2 separate regions of the Homo sapiens genome follow, and region 1 is linked to region 2. The links are contacts of gene promoters, found by promoter capture Hi-C in human tissues and cell types (Jung and others, 2019). All regions are on one chromosome and are shown on one strand. The core of a region is centred on a gene start or on the middle of the fragment in contact, and the rest is flanking DNA. Distances in the headings are between cores, read along the strand shown. Region 1 overlaps EFCAB6 (EF-hand calcium binding domain 6). Region 2 holds the start of SULT4A1 (sulfotransferase family 4A member 1).

The links. Contacts are between HindIII fragments. The study calls those that stand out against the background at their distance.
Region 1: a contact is called between a fragment that was not itself captured here and the fragment with the promoter of SULT4A1 in region 2, in 2 of the 25 tissues and cell types used here (dorsolateral prefrontal cortex and hippocampus).

Annotation. Positions count from the first base shown.
Region 1 is chr22:43,744,243-43,747,781 of GRCh38, reverse strand. All of the region lies in intron 6 of EFCAB6 (EF-hand calcium binding domain 6), which reads left to right. Among named protein-coding and RNA genes, the nearest start is that of EFCAB6, 66 kb to the left of the region's middle. The HindIII fragment of the contact is 4,866 bases long and covers 1-3,539 here.
Region 2 is chr22:43,860,331-43,863,928 of GRCh38, reverse strand. SULT4A1 (sulfotransferase family 4A member 1) reads left to right here and starts at 1,416. Exons shown (of 7, transcript NM_014351.4): 1 at 1,416-1,715. The coding sequence starts at 1,547. RefSeq lists an enhancer at 3,101-3,598. The HindIII fragment of the contact is 9,350 bases long and covers 1-3,598 here.

The sequences.
Region 1 (3,539 bases), core at 723-3,222, 120 kb after region 2:
GTTTGAACCAGGCCTTAGAGGAAGGGTAAGACTTCAGATGGTGTGTACATAGCAGGGGCTCATTAAGTCTAGGAATTCATGAATGAACAGAAGGCAGGCAGGAGGGCACAGGGTGGGTGTTCTCCCACCAACTGGATCAATTTGCCAGGAAGAAAGATGTCTACGGGGGTGAACGGGGAGGACGTAGGCACTCCCAGCTGAGTGTGCACTGAGTGAGCTAACAGTCTTCCTCCCCAAACCTGCAACATATTCTACATTGTTGATCTTATCCAGTCAGGTCACCAAGGCAGAAACTGGGCGCCACTTCGACTTTCCTTTCCCTCACCCTCTACATACAGTTAACCACTAGGTCCTGCAGATTTGGTCCCCCAGAGCCGGCCCCAGCTTCTCCAGTGCTGTTCCCCTAGTCCTTGAGGATTCACAATGTACGTTAGCATAGTGAAGGCTCAGAGGAGGCTGCTGTATAGAAATCTATTGAATGTTGCTGCAGCCAGCCTTTCCGTGCATGTGTTTGTTTAGCTCTAGATCCAGAAGAACTTGTGTTTGGAGGAACGCCATTTTGGGAAATGCTGGGGGAGACGACAGACAAAGTCTTTTTCTACTCTAAAATGTGATTCTGGTCTATTTCTTAGGTGAGGTGGTCTGTGGCTGGCTAGGCTCTTGGCAAAGTGCTACAGCCACTTGGCAGTACCCAGCATTGGCCCAGCCTGGGAAACTTTTCACGTAACCTGAACAGTCTTCTGCGGTTTGTCTTTCTCAAAGCAGCATCCTCTTGCATGAGGTCCAGATAAGCAGCAGGATGCTGGGTCAGCATAGTGGCTTCTGATCTTCCAGGCTTGCCCCTGCTGGTGTGCAGCTCTGTCCTGTGAGTGAGCTGAGGCCAGGGCTCTTAGGGGCCCCAAGATTCTTGGCCCGTGGCAGCTGAGGTGGAGTACCCATCCTATGAGTGTGGGCTGGGTAAGAAAGAAAGGAAAGAAAGGAAAGATTTCTTATAGATCAGCAGCCCTTTTTAAAATTTTAATTTCTAATTTTTTGTAGAGATGGGGTCTTACTATATTGCCCAGGCTAGTCTTGAACTCCTAGCCTCAAGCAGTCCTCTTGCCTCAGCCTCCCACAGTGCTGGGGTTACAGGCATGAGCCACCGCACCCAGCCTGGCACCCTTGTAAGTCCCTCAGCTTATAGACGGGGCACCTTTTCATAGCTGTATCGTAAGCTCAATGGGTAGCTAGAGTTTCTTAAAAGAAGTCTATAAGCTATACGTTACAGGTAAGCATTTTAAAAATGAAAAATTGAATGTGGGGGAAGGTTTACATGGCCTGTGGACTTTATATAAGCACGAGTTTCCCTCTTCATCTTGGCTGCAAGGAGACCCCGAACCAGAGTTTTGCTTCATTGTGTCAACTATGACTTTTAGGTTTCTTTAGCTCATTTTTTCGGGGTCAGCTTTCTTTTCTCCATTTTTGTGGATCTTATTTGGATATCTTTTTCAGTAAGCTTTTTCGATTTTTGGTAAAGGCAGGGTATGCCTATGGTCAGTAAAGAAATTTGTAGTCCTTGGCCTGCGAGGGCAACTGCCAGAGCAATGAGAGCATCAGCCCAGAGGCAGGGAGGCGAGGCTTTTGTGAAAGGTGAGCGATGCCCGGCCCCCGCTTCCCGCTTGTCCCCGGATTGGAAGTTTGTGTTTATGAGGTTCTGAATGTAGTCTAATTTTTTCCTATCTGGTTTGGCGCATCTCTACCAGCTGGTAAATAGGAAATGTTCACGGTAGGAAGCCAATACTCTGCAGAGTGTAAACAGATGGAATCGATATAAAGTGACAAGTTAGACTGTGCTATTGAGAATACAGAGCCAAAACTAAGAACATAACAGTCAAGCTACTTATTTCGTTCCAGTTCATTTAGTCCTGAATAGTGCTTCATATCTGCACAGCTGTGTTGTTCTTTTTTCCCCCTTCCTTTCTTCTGGGTTGATAATGACAATTTCAAAGAAAAACTTTAATTAAAGATTTTATACAAAATAGCCAAAAGTAGAATAATAAGGAAAATGAGCATTGATGTGTTTATTGTAAGAGAAATCCTTTTTCATGGTTTCATTTCAAATCTGTACTTCTTAAATTTAAAATGAATTTAGTGGTGGAGACAGAAAGGTGCCAGACTGACAGCCGTGGGTGTTGAACTCTTCCGCTTGCTGCTGAGCCAAGACATGGGGGTGCCCGAAGCCCCCTCCCCTTGGGACTCAGTCTCAGTCTACAGGCAGGCGGGTGGGATGCGGTTCCTGACCCCCTTCTCTTAGAAGCCAGGTGAGAAAAAGTGGCTCCGGGTGAGGAGCTGCACAGAAAACAGCTACACGGAAGCCAATAAGAATGAAATTGTAGAAGGTTTAAGTTCGTCTGCGGGTTATGCTGTGGCATGAAGAAGCTTGGCCTGCCTCCGGGAAGGGCCACGTTAGTGCCAGGCCTCCAGAGGGATTGTTTTCCAGGCGGAGTGGGAATTCTGGGCTTCAGAGGGGAAACATTCAGCCTTTTCTCATCTTCTTTAAAGCCTGGGTGGTCAGATTTATTTGAGTTCACAGTTTTCCTTCCTGGAGCTCAAAGTGCTATAAAAAGAATTTTAAACAAAGAACTCTGGAGTAATAATAGCATCCATGGTTAGCAGTTTATGGAACCATCTGAACTCAGTGGGGTACAAATATGAAGCAGTTTGATTTCTTAGCTCTCAGTTTTCTCCAACAGGAGCTGCTGAATCTCCCTCTCTTGTCCCATAGGAATATCTTCAGCAGATCTGGTGGCTCTCTGGTCACATTTAGGTCTAAACAGGTCCAGTGCAGGCGAGTTCAGTTTAAACCTCAAGTGTGGGGCTGGTTCAGCACGCCCTTCTCAGCTCCTCCAAGCCCGAGGGCCCTGGAGTGGGTAGGGCCTGCTCACTGGCTGTACCTCCCTCCTTCTTTCTGCTTCCTCTCTCCCCCAGATCATGGGGTCTGTGATGAGGGCTGGGGAAGGAGAGCATGTCTCTCTCTCCCTTATCTGGGTCCTCTCTGGGAAGCTCTCCTATAGGGTCCGTGGGGAGTAATTAGGACAGTGCTTTGGGGGCCTCTGAACTTCATGGTTTCCTGTTGAGGAAGATCAGCCCTGACTTAGCCCCCTCTGGACCCCCTCAGCTCCCACTCCTGGTGGTCCAGCTCACTTCCTTTGGCTGCTTGGGTCCCCTTCCCTGATGAGCAGTCCCTTGGGAACAGGACAGCTCAAGATTTCTACCTGTCATGGTGTCCTCTTAACCCATGGAAAATTCACAAGTCCCGTCCATACCAAAATAGGTGTTCAGGCTGCTTTCATCTGCTGCTTCTGCCTTGCTCTGCTGTGTCTGTCTGAGTCTCAGTTCCTCTTCCCAGGTAGGTGCAGAGCAGATCACTGAATCCACTGGGAAATGAGATGCTTGTCTACCCTTTTTGCAGGTTCCTGTCCTGTCTCTACAAGGATTGTCTTGGCTTGCAATCTCCCCACCTACCCACCCACTCATCCATCCACCCATCCATCCTTCAT
Region 2 (3,598 bases), core at 167-2,666:
TTCTTGTTGGTGTAAACTCCTTCCATCTTCCTGGCTACACTACTTAGAGGTAGGAATCATTCTTTTCCTTTACACAGCTGATGATGCTCGGCTGCAGAGAATGAGAGCAGGCTGTGTTGTTTTCATCTTTGTGCTTCCCCAGGCATGTTAGTAGGTGCTTCATATATGTCTGTTGAGTGCATGACTGGCAAGGGGTTGCACTGAGATCTCTAGAACTCGGTTGCTCTCAAATTATAGTTTGCACAAGAAGTGCCTTACTAAATGTATATTTTTGTAATTTTTCTCCATAGATCTGGGGTCCTGGAATTTGCAATCCAACACTCCCCTCCCCTACTCATGGGATATTAAGAAGCACTTTTTGGCTGGGCGAGGTGGTTCACACCTGTAATCCCAGCACTTTGGGAGGCCAAGGTGGGCAGATCACGAGGTCAGGAGATTGAGACCATCCTGGCTAACACGATGAAACCCCGTCTCTACTAAAACAAACAAACAAAAAATACAAAAAATTAGCCAGGCATGGTGGCATGTGCCTGTAGTCCCAGCTACTCGGGAGGCTGAGCCAGGAGAATGGCGTAAACCCGGGAGGTGGAGCTTGCAGTGAGCTGAGATCGCGCCCCTGCACTCCAGCCTGGGCGACACAGCGAGACTCCATCTCAAAAAAAAAAAAAAAAAAAAAAAAGCAAAAAAAAAGCACTTTGTTTTTTTGGCTGGACTAGGTGGCCCATACTTTTTTTTTGTTGTTGTTAGAAGATCTCGTCCTGTTGCCCAGACTGGAGTGCAGTGGTGCAAGCTCACAGCTCACTGCTAATTTTTTTTTTTGTATGTTTGTAGAGATGCGGTTTCACCATTTACCCAGGTTGGTCTCGAACTCTTGACCTCAGGAGATCCGCCCGTGCTCGACCTCTCAAAGTGCTGAGATTACAGGCGTGATCCACCGCGCCTGGCGAAGACGCATATTTTTAATAGGACCTAATATTTACCTGAAATTATCTTGGTTATTTACCAATGTAAGCTCCAACAGGGCCAGGCTTCTGCTTGCTTCTACCCTGACGCGTGTCGGGGCCCTGGCCCAGTGCCTGGCACAGATCAGCAGCGCGCTAAGCACGTGTTGAATGGACGACTACCTTTCAGGGCCTTCCAGCCAGGGTATCTCATGCGTCTGTGTTGAGCGCTTGCTGAGTGACAGAAGCTATGAGCGGAATGAACGCACGCACGACTGAGGAGGCTGCAGACCGCGGGCCAGGGTCTCTGTCAGCCCCGGCAGCGGGTGGGTGACCCCGGCCGGGGGCGGGGCGGGGAGGACGCGGCTCCGCGGCGCCATGACGTCACGCCCGTGCAGCGCCGCGGCCGCGTGCCGGGCGGCGCCATGACGTCATACCCGCGGAGCCTCCGCCGCGCGTCGGCGGCGCCATGACGTCACGCCTGCGGAGCTGCCGCCGCGCGCCGGTGGGGCGCGAGCGTGTGCGGGGCGCGGGCGCGGGCGCGGGCGCGGGCGCGTGCGGGCTGCGAGCCGGGAGGCGGCGGCGGCGACGGCGACGGCGGCGGCATGGCGGAGAGCGAGGCCGAGACCCCCAGCACCCCGGGGGAGTTCGAGAGCAAGTACTTCGAGTTCCATGGCGTGCGGCTGCCGCCCTTCTGCCGCGGGAAGATGGAGGAGATCGCCAACTTCCCGGTGCGGCCCAGCGACGTGTGGATCGTCACCTACCCCAAGTCCGGTGAGCCCCGCGCCGACCGCGCCCGCCACGCCATGCCCCAGCCCTGCAGCGCGGCCGCGTAGACGCCGCGCCCGCGCCCGGGGCTTCTGCTGGGCCGGGTGGTCGCCCTTGGCCTCCGCCCCTGCCGTGCCCACCGCTCTCCCGATGCTCGGATCCCTGCGGGGCGGGGTGGGGTGGGGTGGGGGTGGGAAGGGGCTTGGTTCTCATCTGGGGAAACCAAGGTCAGAGACCTTCGGGAGCGGCCCCTTCCGTGGAGATGGAGCCTATTTGGCCGGCGCTGCAGGAGGATGGGCCCAGGGCCGCCACCCATCCCTGCTTCTCCCTTTACCTGGCTGGCTGTGTGACCTTGGACAGGTCACTCAACCTCTCTGTTCCTGAATCCTGCCCAACCTTTGATGAGTGCAAAGTCCTGGTGTTCACCTGGGAAGGGAGATAACATGGGCGTCAGGGCTTTCAGCGTGGAAACGTAACGTCCCTCCTTTCCAGCCTGGGCTCCGGGTGGGGGATGGGACCAGTCCCCGCCTGGAGTGCCTTGCTTGTACATTCTCTTGTTTCAGGGCTGCCTCCATCACCGAGGCAGGACCTGGGGCATTCACATTTCCCAGCATTAGCTGACGTCACTTTCACAATAACAGCTGTGTGAGCTAGTGGTGGTCATTCCCACTTTACAGTCTAGGCACAGAGGCTCAGAGAGGGGAAGAGGCTGGTCCAAGGTCACTCAGCTGGTGAGTGGCTGACCTGGGAATTAAAGCTAGGCTGGTCTGTTTCCAGACCTGAGGTAGGAGATTGTATAGTACCCCATCTGAGGTTTTTAGGGAAAGGAGGTAGCAGCTTTCCTGTTCTGTAAACATGCCCTGGGATTTCCTTGTTGCCACTGTATTTGAGGCAATCACAGCGTGGTTTAGAAGGTGTCTGGCTCTAAGGTCACGCCGGACCAGCAGTCGGGCAGTTTCAGGAAAAGCTGTAGGCTTGGCTGTTGTAGCTGTATGGAGTTCCAGACACCTGAGGGCAGGTCTCTGACATTCTTCTGAGGAAGATTGGAGTAGGGACTCTCAGTGGAGGGTGTTGGTTGGAGAACAGAGCGTTCGATGGGCTGCTATCTTGAGCACATGCCAGTCGCCGCATGGGGTGGGACCTAAAATGCTTTAGGAATGGCTAAGCGTGTCGTTGGCTTCTGTGGCCACTCATTAAGTCCTGCGGGCCAAGTGCTCTATCGCTGTTAATCTGTGAGGGACTCTTACACCTTTTTTTCAGAGGCTCAGAGAAGGCACAAATTGTTCGGAGTCACACAGTTGCTGAGGGACAGAGGTCAGGTCTAGCTAGGTCTCCCGGTCCACGGCCAGCCTCTCCCCTGCCTTATGGGTGCTCCGTTGCCCTTGGAAAACCGTGAGGGCCCAAGAAGGAGGGGGACCTAGCCTTCTTTCTTGGAGGCTTTAAAATGCTGGAAGTCTCAGCCACTTAGGGATTTTGAGGTTTGTGTCACTTCTCTGAGGCCCCTCCAAGTGGACTTCTGGTAGCCCAGTTCATATTTTCTTTTCCTTTCCTTCCATCTGCTACTGGGGATGGATTTGTAGCAGGCATCAGTGCTTACACATTAAGAACCTGGCTTCGGAGTTGGAAGTCCTGGGTTTGAATGCAGTTTTGCGGCTTACCAGCAGAGTGACCCTGGGCAGATCATAGAATCCCATTGAGCTGTGGTCTCTGCGGAGGGAGAAGAGACCACCTCGGCCCGCTGATGTGTGGCTGTGAGGATGAGCAAAATGGCGGGTGAGAACGCTTAGCCCACGTCCAGACACACGCTGGAAAGGCTCGTGGTTAATGCTGACTTTTAAGCCCTGAACACCTGTTGTGCCCAGATGCTTTGCTAGGGGCTGGGGAAGCCG